Linked DNA regions of Homo sapiens: all the other regions are linked to region 3. The links are contacts of gene promoters, found by promoter capture Hi-C in blood cells and fetal thymus (Javierre and others, 2016). All regions are on one chromosome and are shown on one strand. The core of a region is centred on a gene start or on the middle of the fragment in contact, and the rest is flanking DNA. Distances in the headings are between cores, read along the strand shown. Region 1 overlaps DHRS7B (dehydrogenase/reductase 7B). Region 2 holds the start of TMEM11 (transmembrane protein 11). Region 3 holds the start of MAP2K3 (mitogen-activated protein kinase kinase 3).

Region 1 (4,139 bases), core at 9-2,508, 110 kb after region 3:
TGAATCCCAGATCTCCCTCTGTGGACTCCAGCTCTAAGCCCTAGCAAGCATTGACCCAGGCCCTGCACCCTCGGCCGACTGTTCAGCATTGTAGAACTTTCTTCCTCTCAGTACTGACATGAGCGGACAGAAAAGCCACAGGCCTCATGCTGCCCCTCAGGGAACAAGCGGAGATTGCCATTCAGCCTAGGACATAGTCACCCACAGTGTTACAGGAAGAGGTGGTGTGTCAGTACTCACCTGCCTCTCCTTCGGAAACCTGTGTTGGCCTTACCTCAAGTAATGCCTGTTTTCATTTTCAATCCCTGAATACTTGTGAAACTAGAAAGGGGTTTTTTGAGGAAAGGAAAAAGGAAGTCGTACCAATTCTTATCCTCTTCAGAGCAGACACTCAGAGGACGGACGTTTCTGGGTGGAGCAGCCCCTAGACTGTTACAGTGAGGGCCACAGATGGACTTCTGACCACAGGCCTCACAGACACCCAAAGGGGATTCAGTGCAGGGCCCTGCCCCAAGCACCAGCATGGGCTCCGGCCGGTGAGCGTGCTGCCCCGCTGTGCCTGTGGCATGTTCCTGCCCAGCATTCCCCAGTGAGCCATGAAATCTGGAGGCTGTATGAGTGTCTGTGCAACAGTGTGCAGTTGATTCTTAGAAAATGTGTGTTTTTCCCCATCTGCCCTTATTTCCCCTGAACCTCCCCCATTCCTCCGCATTCACCTGTCCTCCTGTGCCCAAAGCAGGAGATAAGAGGGGGACACAGGGTTAAAGGAAGGCTGAGGAGGAGCTGGTGAGGACCGTGGTGAGCACCATGTGCTGTCGCTGGGAAGCAATGCCCTGGAAGGCCACTTGACGAGCGAGCCAGAGTCTATGAGACAAAAGGCCCCCCCCGAGTCCACCTCCAGGGCTGTGGTTTACGAGCACAGAATCCTTCTCAGGAAGGAAGAGGCTGGAATCCAAGAAGAGAGTTCTGGCAAACCAGACTGTAGCTCTAAATTATTCATAAGCTTGGAGCAATAATGTAAAACCCTCAGCCACCTACTTAATATCCCATCTCAAGCCCACATATAAAAAAAAAATTCTGCTTCCTTTCGTAAGAGGACATCAACTCTGGATGCCAGAGTGAAGCCAGGAACACTGTGGACTCCCAACACACATCCATCTATGCACCAAGTCGCTTTGATCCTGAAGTTCATGTTCAGGGTGGCTGTCCTGATCTATGCTAAATTGCCCCCTACAAGAGGATTCTACTGCAACGGAACTGTCAACTGAACTAGATTAGCATTTACTTTTTCACCTGCTTTTCCAGATACACCTGAATTCTTAACCACCATAAAAAACAGCCACATTCTTGGACTGTAAAAATGACAGTTTCCCATCAACTGCCACTTAATCCACCTCTGAAAACACCTCAGCTACTATCTGCTGCATGGATAAAGCTCCCTCTTGCCCTACACTATGCCAAGCCTCCATTGTATGAACTGGGGATTAAGGTGGTATCTAAAGCACCAAGCTTTTCACCAGGCACTACTGGTACCATCCCTGCCCCAAGAGGAAGTTCTGACCAGGTGTTCTTGCCTGCAGGCTATGCTGGGTCCCAAGGACCCTTTGTGTGGAATCTGAGAAGTGCTCAGGAAAGCTGTAGAGTAGGCACCGAGGCCTGTGCCACTCCAGGGTTCTGTGGGTGCTGCCTGGAGTCCTGCACGGGACCAAGATCCTGAAAACAGGGAATGTGGGAGGGTTTCCTAGGGGAAGGAGGGATAAACAGTGGGAGGCAGGAATGGTTGCCATTTTGTTGATATAGCTTTACCAGAAAATTACAGCAATTGACAAAAGGCAAGAGAAGGCTCCAGGCAAGGATAGCTTAAAACTTGCATGTAATAAGCTGGTTGAGGGGTGGGGGCTTGGGAAGAGTTCAACCCGGCTGGATGGCTATTTGGTAAAAGCTTTTTTCTCACTGCAATCCCAGGTCTTTGTACCAGGTAGGTCTCAGGGTAGGACCACCCTGCCTTGTCCAGAATGGCCCAGGGCCCAGCCACTGCCCAGGATGAGCTTGAGGTATGAAAGGGGTGGGGGCCTCAGCTCAGGGAAGGATAGTAGGGCTCAGCCTCTGGGGCCGGGACCCAGAGCCCCACTAGGCGTGTTGGGTGGAAACCCCTCCGAACACTCCTCCGTGGGCCCCTGGAGGCCAGTGCCTGTGAAGTCCACCCAATTTCAAATTGACAACCTGGGGCTGAGGCACAGTGCCACCGAGGTCATGGGGGTCAAGAGCCAAGTATGCAGCCTGTCGCTTCTCAAAACTCAGAGACCACTTGAAAAACACTAACTGCAGCACAACAGCGGCAGTGCAGGGGTCATGAGGATGAACCCTCAAGCCAGCCTGGCTTGGGTGACACCCTGGCCCAGTCACTTGGCAGCCTGGCAAAGGGGCCTCACTGCCCTGGGCCTCAGTGTCCTCGCCTCTGAGCTGAAGTTGTGAGAGGACCTCCCTCCTGGGTTTGTTATGAGGTTGGATGAATTCATCTGTACACAGAGGGAACACAGCTGCCACCAGCATCATAATGACCACCATTAACTCAAAGTTCCTGGATCAGGACCTCACCTCCCAGCAATCCGACTCCCAAGACTGTCTGAAGGGACCCCTGGCTTGTGAAGTGTGGTTCTTTCCAAATAAAGGAAGCTCATTAAATGTATTAAGTGTCCAATGTTGTTTAACTTCTATATTTTCATAAACCTTTCAGTTTAATCAAATTAACAAATAGGAAAAAACTCCACAACATTGGCAGAAGTCAGGCTCTCATGTCCCAAGTTTTGTGTTAGAAAATGTGGTTATCAAGGCCAGCAAAGCAGGAGAGAGCAGACAGGTACTAAAATGTCCCTCAACCCCGTCTTCACACCCAGGGAGGAGCAGGATGAAAATAAACCAGCCCAGCAAGGCTCCCCAGTGGAAGATGATTAAAGTTCCCAACAAATTGCACTTTCATGCAACCTAATTAAAACTCAAGCCAGCAATCCATGACATGAAGAAAAGAGCGAAAACTACACACCGTCTTGTACACTTCTGGGATTCCTTGAGCACCTGACACAACATCACAGGCCAGCCTTGGTCTCCTGGCCCTGGAGACCACTTTGCCTGAGGCAAACATGGCGCCGGGTGAATGGGATCCATCCTTGGCCCGGGCCGCTGTCTGTGGGGAGAGCGCATGTCTGCATTCAGTCTGGTAAAGTGCTATCGAATCAGAATGCAAAGCAAATTAAAAGCCAGTGCCAAGGCCAAACGCAGTGCCTCGCGCCTGTAATTCCAGCACTTTGGGAGGCTGAGGTAGGGGGATCGCTTCAGCCTGGGAATTCAAGACCAGCCCGGGCAACATGGTGAAATCCCGTCTCTACAAAAAACACATAAACTAACCAGGTATGGTAGTGCACGTCTGTAGTCCCAGCTTCTTGGGAGGCTGAGGTGGGAGGATTGCTTGAGCCTAGGAAGTTGAGGCTACAGTGAGCCAAGATTGCACCACTGCACTCCAGCCTGGGTGACAAAGTGAGGCCCTGTCTCAAAAGCAAACAAAAAACAAAATCCAGTGCCAACTCTCCCCTGCTAACAAAGAATGACCATGGTGGGAAAAGACACCCCAGAGTGAGCCATTTATCTGAGAATCAGGTTCAATTCCAGCATAACTTTCCTGACTAGATGAAGTTGTTCATATTGATAATCCCGACTCTTTCCAGAGTTTTTCAAACTCTGAAAGCCCTCCTAATAGTTCTTCCACTATGCAGGGCATGTGGCCACACTGCTGGGCCTTCTTGGGTTCTTAGAGACAGCTGTGCCAACACTTTCCTAGCTTGTCTTTGGAAGTCAGGATGACCATGAGAGCTAGCCATGGAAAGCCCCACCACCTTGCTGTGGTGTCCAGGGCTTTCTACCAGCTAAAAGGACAGCTTCACAGTGGAAGAAAGGAACAGTGTTCTAGCTGGCCACATTTCCAGATTAGGAAATAAATCTACATAAAGCAAGGTCAAAGGGAGGCCTGTTTTCTTTGAAAATGGCATACAAGAAGGATTTATATATATGTATAAACTTTAATATATTTATCAATCATGCATTTTATACCAAAATCCTTATTAACTGCTAGTTTCAGATATATA
Region 2 (3,914 bases), core at 380-2,879, 72 kb after region 3:
AGCCTGGCGGCCAGGACAGCGCGGCCGGGCGCCTCCGCGCAGTGCTCTGGGAGTTGTAGGCACTTGCCTCTCCTCTCTCCTTCAGCTACTGGCTCTCGAAACTCAAGGACCTACCGGTGGGTGGGCGCCTGTGACTCCCAGGCTGCGAACGCCGGGAACTCAGTTTCTTCAGAAATGCTCGAACCAGGACGGCTCCTGGAGTCCTCGCGCCCTCGCAGAAGGACTACGGGCCCCGGCGACCCCGGGGGCGGGGCTTCCGGCGCGCTGCCTTGTGGGCACGGTAGTTCCGCCGGGTCTGGCTTCCGCCTGCCGAGCGGCCCCGGACCGCAGGCCGGACTACACTTCCCGTCGGCCCGCCTGCTCTCCCGATGCCGCCTTGGCGCGAGACGTTGGCAAGCAGAGTGTCTCCAAGATGGCCGCTTGGGGAAGGAGGCGTCTTGGCCCGGGCAGCAGTGGCGGCAGCGCCCGAGAGAGGTGAGATCCAAGGGCTTGTTGCCCCCAGTGCAGGCGGCTCAGCGGCCGGAGAGCCCAGCGCGGCCTCCGAGGGCTGCAGCAGCCTTCCTTCCCTGGTTTCCCCGCGCTCCCCCTACCCTCGCCGGGCATACTGGGTTCCAGTTCCGGAGGATCCGGGATCCGGGTGGGAGCGAGGTCGAAGGCCTCGGCGGAGAGCTTAGGGGAAGGGGCGTTAGCCGGGCTGAGTAAGGTAGGCAGCGGCCATGCGGGGCGGGGCCCGAGGCCGGGCCGTGCTGAAAGGAACTGGCGCCCAGCGCAGGCCTCAGGGACCCGCCTAGCTGCCCGCGGGCCGATCGGCTGCTGAAGCACCCTTCCCGCCTGGGCACGCGCGTGGCCATCTCGGCCGCGGCCCCAGACGTGTAGAGGAAGGCAGGGCCCCCGGAGAGAGAAAGAAGGGGAAGCCTTCACAGAGCAGGCCGGCCGCGGCAGGGGTAGTTTGATCTGCACGTTTACTAGGGAGCTTTAGCTCCCGCCAGATGTGTCTCTTCCGAGCCCAGAGCCGGCCACTTCCTCGAGGGAAGATTCTGAAGACTTTTGGATGGTTCTGTGCAAGCGCTCCTGCCGTAGAAGTCCTTTAAAGTGACCTTTCCTAATGAATGGTGTGTGGGCAGGGAGCTAGGAGCGTGTTTCTTCCAACAGGGACCTCCATTTGAATAACTGATTTCTAGAAGATGAGATTGGAGTAGTTTCCGTGTTTCATGTTCAAGTTGCAGTTTTTGCATCTGGGAAGCAGTTTCAGCTAGTGGAAACCACTAGAAGCTGTTCAGCCACTAGAAATTTGGGAGAAGATGTATTGGTGGAGCCACCTGGATTAACTGTCCGCTAAAGCTTGATTGTTATAGCAGCGGTCAGCAAAAAAGGAAAAGTTTTTGTTTTGCTGGTTCTCCCCCTCCCCGTCTTTTTGGTGAGGATTGTCTAACAGAAAAGTTATCTTCCTCTCAACTACTCTGCATTATTCCTTTTCTGTGACTGATTCCATCCCGTGTTCATTGCTATTGCTTGCAGATGGCTTTCCCAGCTGGGAAGATTCTTCCTGTTTGGCAGTTGTGATAGAATCCTTTAGCTTGCTTGCACTTTATTCTTTAGCCCAGTTATCCAGCGTTGCCCATTCTGCATTTCCTCTTCCTTGGAAAAGCAGTGGTAAACACACTTTTGTTTTTCTAACTCCCGCCTGGTATTAGATTGGACCATTTAAATAAGTTACCTCAATGGTTTTCAGATGCTCTTAAAAACTAGCAAACATTTTCAAGATATTCAATGCAAACAGTAATACGAAATAACCTGTTTAGAAAACAAAGTATTAGAAACATACGCCCTCTTGTTGGACTAAAAGCATCTGAAAAGAGCCGAATAGGGATGCCTCAGGCAGGGAACAGGAGCCTTGCCAGCACAGGTTAAGCTTTTATTGATCTAAGAAAATAGATGCTGAGAATTGTTTTTGTTTTGGCTTGAGACAACTGTTTATTCAAAATGGATCTGCAAATTAGCAGTGCATAGGCTGGATCCAGTCCTTGACTGTTGAACCTCAACAGTTTTTAAGAGAATTTAAATTAGTTGCCAGCAGATTTCATATAAAACGCTCCCTGAAAAGCTGGGTAGTGGCTGACTCTTTTTGGTCGGGACAAGTGCTTGGTTCCAGTTCTTGGTTCCTCACCTGACAGCTTGACTCAAATCACCTGACAGCTTGACTCAAATCACCTGTCAGCTTGACTCAATGCATTTGCCTGCTTGGTCTCTGTAGGTGTTCAGGTTGCACCTTTGGCCTGGAACTGAAGGCTCTACTCACACACGCAGATGTTGTGTGTCAGCAGGAATGTGGCATTTGGTTTTGTAGTTTGGATGTCACCATCTACTCTCCTAGATAACGTGGTATGGGTGGAGACTACCTGTCTGTTTGCTCTTGCTGTAAACCCCTAGCCAGGTTCTGTTGGAAGAGTCATTTCCCCGAGCCCAGCTTCCCTAAGCTCTTCCCATGCTGAGCAGGGGATGGAAACATAACCCGCTGTGGGGCTAGCGAGCTGACTTCTGGGCATCCCTCCATTCCTGCTCAGTTGGTGATGACTGTTCAGGTGGGGCAGGGCGGATTAGCTGATGGCCCAGCACTCTAGATTATGAGATCTGAGTGTATTATTGGCTCTTATGACTGAAGTAGGCTGTTTATGGCTCTCTAAAATGACTTTGTTCCATGTCACATTCGTGCTGACTCAAATCTCAGCTCCATGTTATACGAGTGCTCTCTCCCGTTGCTGCTCACACCTGGTTAGCATCTGCTTTTGCTGAAGCTGAGGGAAACATTATCTGGTTTGGGGAAGGGGCTAGAACAGAGTGACACTTTGGGCACACTTGCCAGATTTGCCAGCGGCTACCAACTCTGAAGCATGCATTGTACTTAAAGGTCCCACCCAGTGCCAGACTGCCTGCAGTATTACTGCCGGCGCTGTGTGTTGGATGGTCCAGTTTAGCACGTGTAGCGTGTGGGTTCTTGCTTTACCTTGTTGAGTCTAGAACCACAGCTCTAGAATTAGTGCTGAATTAACACAGCAGTTCAGTAGTCACCAGCTACATGTGGCAATTACATTTAAATTCATTAAAATTAAGTAAAATGAAGAATTCAGCTCCTCAGTCTCACTAGCCACATTTCAAGTGCTCAATAGCCACTTCCGGCCTGTGGCTACCATATTGGACAGCATAGGTGGAGGACATTTCCATCACTGCAGAAAGTTATGATATGGACAGTGCTGGTTTCGACTAAGATAGGAGGGGTGGAAATAGCAAAATGGTAGTGCTTGCATGTTGATTTTTCTCTCCACTCCATTAAATCTAGGGAACCAACAGTGTTTGTAATGAAGAACATCAGACTCTGAGCTGTAACCTGAATTCTTGTCCAAAATTCAGCACACTGGCAACGAGCACATCAAACAGATTGCCACTTGTCCTGTCGGCGTCTTTGAGACACACTTGCCCATCTAGGAAAGCACAGTGCAGGTATCTGTGTTCTGCCACCGTGTGCCAGCCCGGACCAGCTCACAGACAGCCCTGCCTGTCTTACTTGGGCTGCTCGGCTTCACTGTCTCAGGGCCCCTGAACCTCCCAGAGCCCTCCGTGATTGTTGGAATGTGAGTATAGCTGTGTGCTCTTGAGTTCCTGTTTTTATAATCACGTGAAGATGTACTTGATCTGCTTCTGAGCATGATATGAGGCAACCTGGGGTGTGCAGAGGGCCAGATGCACGGGGCTAAAAGTTCAGGTTTAGCGCGAAGTTATTTGTTGTGGCCTGCCCCTCCCCTGGCTTGCGCGGCCATCTGCTCCAGCGTTTTATAGGCAGCCAGTTCCCTGGGCTGACTTTCATGGCTTTCCTTGCCATGCTTTATTCCCCAGGACCTGTCCTCTTCTTTGTGAAC
Region 3 (4,111 bases), core at 861-3,360:
ACCTCATCTAGGACCTGGGTCCACATCTAGAAGTTCATTTTGGCCCTCTCACAGCATTCTCACTGCATCTATGACCCCTCTCCTTTCACAACTCTGCAACTGGAACTTTTATTTTGATGAGGCATTCTCTGCCTGGAGAGCTAAAAAGCCTCCAAAACAAACAGTGCTTCCTACCCTTCCCCGAGCTCTCCAGAGTGGAGAAGTGTCTGATTTCCTGGTTCCCAAGCTCCACGAGGTCTGTGCAGTGCAAGTCCCTCCCCAGACACCTCCCCCGTCGAGTGCCTCCCGAGTTACTCACAGTGGTTGGGCAATGGTCAGGGATCCGGCCTCCCACTTATGTAAGGCATAATTATCCAGCCCACCCGGCTCCAGCCACCATAGCAGCCAGCAGCAGGGGCCAGGAAGAGCCCATGCCCTCCCCAGGCCCACATAGGGCTCCCATTGGCCTGCACCCTCCAGAACAGAAGAGCGGCTGACCCCTGATGAAGTGCCCACTAGGTGCCCGCTGCTAGGTGCTTCCTCCTGCTCACTCTGAGGCTGCACTTCCAGCAGTGGAGGCCTTTCCAGCAAGAAGAATGGAAACAATAGCGAGATGTGTGCAGCCAGTGTACCCTGGTGAGCACCGGCTCTGCGCCAGGTGCTACGCTGAGAGAACGCCTCAGAGCTCTTTACTATTCACCACCCCACACCACACTCCCACGTCCACAGAAGCAGGTGCGATTACTTCCAATTTACAGAAAAGGAAACTGAGGCCCAGAGACACCAGGGAGCTTGCTGGGGTGAAGCAGCTGCAGGTTCAGAAAGCCAGGAGGCAGCCCATTCATTACGGCTATGTCCGGTTTGGAAATCTCTCGCACAACCCAGCCTACTGAAACTCCGACGCACCAAAAACATCCTTTCCTCTTCCTGAAAAAAAAAAAATTCCCCTTTTGCCCTCCGAGTTTCATCCTTCCCCCTCCGCATGACAAATCCTGCTGCTGCCACCTCACAAAAATTTCCAGGAAGGCCAGCTACTTGGAGAAGAGCAAATCCCTTGCACAGCCAGCACCCTGGCCTGGCGGCTGGCCCAGATCCCAGGCAGCCAGGACAAGAATAAGATGGGGTGAGAACCCCCAGTGCAGGGAGAAGCTTGCAACTCAAGACAGAGAGAGGCCGGTAGAGAGGGGGCTGTACCTTAGGGAGGGGTGGGAGGACAAGGAAGGTTCCTGGGAGCCCAGGGCTGCAGGACAGGGTGCAGGCCAGCCAGGGAAGGGGCAACATAGGGCCTATAAGGATAAGAAGAGCTGGGGGAGAGAAGGACGGGGAGTTCCGAGCTGGGGTGTAGCCAGAGCACCCGCATAGGGGGTACAGTGAGGTCCGCAACAACAGGAGCACTCTGGGGCCCAGATGGAGACTCAAGTTAAATCCCAACCTGGATACAGCCCTGGGACCCGAAGCTAGAAATGGGACTGGGTGCTGCCCAAGGACCCAGGTGAAGGCCAGTGTGAATCTCACCTGGGTCCCGCTGAGGGAGAAGACTGGGAGAGTTCATGTCCAGGCTGCAGCCATAAGGCCCAAATGAGGTCAGAATGAGGCTCCTGACTTGGATGGGGTGAGCAGAACAAAGTCCTAGTCTGGGTCCAGCCTGGGTGATCTCGGGCCTGAGTGCAGTCCCAAGGCCTAACGTGGGGGTCCAGGTGAGGGCCCAGGCGGGGGCTGGTCCCGGGACCCCGAACAGGAAGGGGTTCCGGGACCGGACGCCGCTGCCAGGTCGAGAACAGGATGGGGTGGGACCAAAGAAAGGTCGGGGTTTGCAGCCCGGCCCCAGATTAGGCGCGGGGTCAGGCCGAGGTCCCGGCCGGGAGCGCCTACCTTTGGACTGGGGCATGCTGGCGGGCTGGCTCGAGGCGGGCGACTCCATGCTGCAAGTGGGTCCTGGACGGCGGTGGAGACTAATCTAGAGGACTGCGGGCTCCACCGGGGCCGAGCACGCTCATGGCTGCGGGCAGACGGCCCAGGCCAGGCGGAGGAGCAGCGGCGGCGGCGGCGGCGGCGGCGGCGACTGCGGCGAGGACTGCGGCGGCGACTGCAGCAAGGACGAGTCCGCGACGGGCGGCGCCGGAGACAGACTGGGCAGCGCCGGGGAGACCCCGGCCGAACTGCGCTGACTCAGGCCCCGCCCCTGCGTGCCCGATTGGTCCTTTCGTTTCCAAGGCCCGTCCTCTGCCTATCAGACGCCGGCCTGTCCCTGCCTGTCAAGCACACGCCCCACCCTCCTTAGGCCCAGGATCCGGGCCCCTCCCGCTCTCTGTCAAGTCCGCCAGCCGCCCGAAAAACCCAGGTCCGGTCAGGCTCCGCCCCCTGGACTAAAGCCGCGCCCCTCGCGCTGCCCGTCAACATGCAAGCCCCACCCACTCCCGGGACCCACTGAGCCCGCTGCTCCCTGCAGGCGCCCAGGCCCAGCCCGGCACCCCCAGACCCGCAGCCCCGGCGGGTGCGATGCGCGGGCGCGTTCTCCTGGGTGCGTCGTCTGGAAAAAACCCGAGATCCCTAAAGGTGGCACGGCTGGGCCTGCCGAAGTGGGCGGGGGTTAAAAGTGCGCTGCTGGGCTGCCTCCTGGCTCTCTGAACCTGCAGCTGCCTCACCCTAGCAAGCTCCCTAGTGTCTCTGGGCCTCAGTTTCCTTTTCTGTAAATTGGACCCGGGTTCGGATCCGAGTCGGCAGCTTTGTAGCGGAACTAGCCTTGGTCAGGTGGTGACACCTGAGCCTCAGTCTACGCATCTGTGAGCGGGCGGCGGTGACAGCTATCTCCCGGCGCTGCTCGCTAACACGCACTGAGGGCCTGGCGCCAGCAAACGTCGCCCGCGCCCGCGCTCCAGGCGCCCGGCCAGGGCGCGGGGTCGGTGGTGAGCTCAGCGATGCCCGGTGACGAGGCAGCACGAGGAGTTTTCGTGGCTGGTTACTGCTGCCCCTGTTCTACACAGGGGGAAACCGTGTCTCAGAGGGAGTGAGGCGGCATGCGGTGCATTTTATCCCGCGAGCCCCGAGGCCCCATCCTGGCTCTCTCCTGGACCTTCGTTCTCTCCTCTCCTCCTAGGATCTCAGTCTGCCCATCTGCATAATGGCTGGATGGGCCAGTCCTCCCTCTGCTCCCACACGGAACCTCGGGGGATTTCAGGAACCGCTGACCAATCTGGCGCTGGGAACAGATGACTCTGGATGTAAAGCCAGGGCTAGTGAAGGCAGAATGTACCAGGCAAAGGTCAAGGGGTCAGCCCCTGGCCTCCAGGCAGACATGTGTACCCTGTCAGGGACCTCACGTGAGGGAAGCAGATTCCACCACCTGCTAGAAAGGCTTGAGGCCGGGCCTGACCTCTGCTTGCCCAGGTGTAAAGTGGGGGTGATGCAGGGCCCCATGCACAGAGTGGGGAGCCACAGGAGATAAGAGGGAAGCCTTGCAGCCATCACCATTCTCTTCCTGCGTCTCCTGTTCACCCTTCCCAGGCAGTGGGATGGAAAATCATGAGTCTGGGGCTCAGATAGGTATGGGTTCCAATACCAATTCCTCCACTTACTAGCTGGATGACCTTAAAGAAGTCACTGAGCAGCTCTGTGCCTCAGTTTACCTATCCCATGGGGACAATAAGGTCTCTGAAAGCGTTTCATGAGTTCAGGAGTGGAAACACCTGGCCTAGGGCTTGGCACTCACTAGGTGCCCAGGAAATGTGAGTTTGAAAACACTGTGGGCTGCCTCCATCCTTGCCATATCATCCCTGGTGACCTGTGCTTATCCGTCTGTAAAATGGGCATCCAGGAGCAGCTTCCTTTCTACCAGAACTGCAAGGCTAGTCCAGCGAGTTTTCTGGGTTCAGGCACTGGCCAACAGCCTTGACTTCTGCACAAGGCCACACTCCGCCTTGTGCACTCTGCTTCTTGGGATGTTCAAGAGTCTCAGTATTGCCCCTCAAATGTGCCAGGGATGGTCCTGCCGCAGCAGCTTCACCCTTGCTGCTCCTGCCCAGAACATTCTTCCACTCAAGCCTCCTGGGGCTGGTTCCCTCTCATCCCTCAGACCGCTTCCTAAATGAACACCCCTAAGAGGCCTTCTCATCATGGTCCCCAGACTGAGGCA

Evidence for each region. Contacts are between HindIII fragments. The CHiCAGO score rates a contact against its expected background, and 5 or more counts as called.
Region 1: a contact is called between a fragment that was not itself captured here and the fragment with the promoter of MAP2K3 in region 3, in 3 of 17 cell types (M0 macrophages, M1 macrophages and M2 macrophages). The highest score is 5.8, in M0 macrophages.
Region 2: a fragment that was not itself captured here is called in contact with the fragment with the promoter of MAP2K3 in region 3 in 14 of 17 cell types (naive CD8 T cells, fetal thymus, erythroblasts and 11 more); the score reaches 10.6 in naive CD8 T cells.

The regions. Positions count from the first base shown.
Region 1 is chr17:21,167,797-21,171,935 of GRCh38, reverse strand. The region is part of intron 1 of DHRS7B (dehydrogenase/reductase 7B); the gene reads right to left. Among named protein-coding and RNA genes, the nearest start is that of DHRS7B, 43 kb to the right of the region's middle. The HindIII fragment of the contact is 506 bases long and covers 1,006-1,511 here.
Region 2 is chr17:21,210,651-21,214,564 of GRCh38, reverse strand. It overlaps TMEM11 (transmembrane protein 11), which reads left to right and starts at 404. Exons shown (of 2, transcript NM_003876.3): 1 at 404-474. The coding sequence starts at 413. TMEM11-DT (TMEM11 divergent transcript) reads right to left here and starts at 240. Exons shown (of 2, transcript NR_184102.1): 1 at 115-240. RefSeq lists silencers at 1-62, 183-322 and an enhancer at 403-502. The HindIII fragment of the contact is 571 bases long and covers 1,344-1,914 here.
Region 3 is chr17:21,282,710-21,286,820 of GRCh38, reverse strand. It overlaps MAP2K3 (mitogen-activated protein kinase kinase 3), which reads right to left and starts at 2,110. Exons shown (of 12, transcript NM_145109.3): 1 at 1,852-2,110. The coding sequence starts at 1,900. RefSeq lists enhancers at 402-461, 2,538-3,038 and a silencer at 2,122-2,651. The HindIII fragment of the contact is 5,771 bases long and covers 1,131-4,111 here.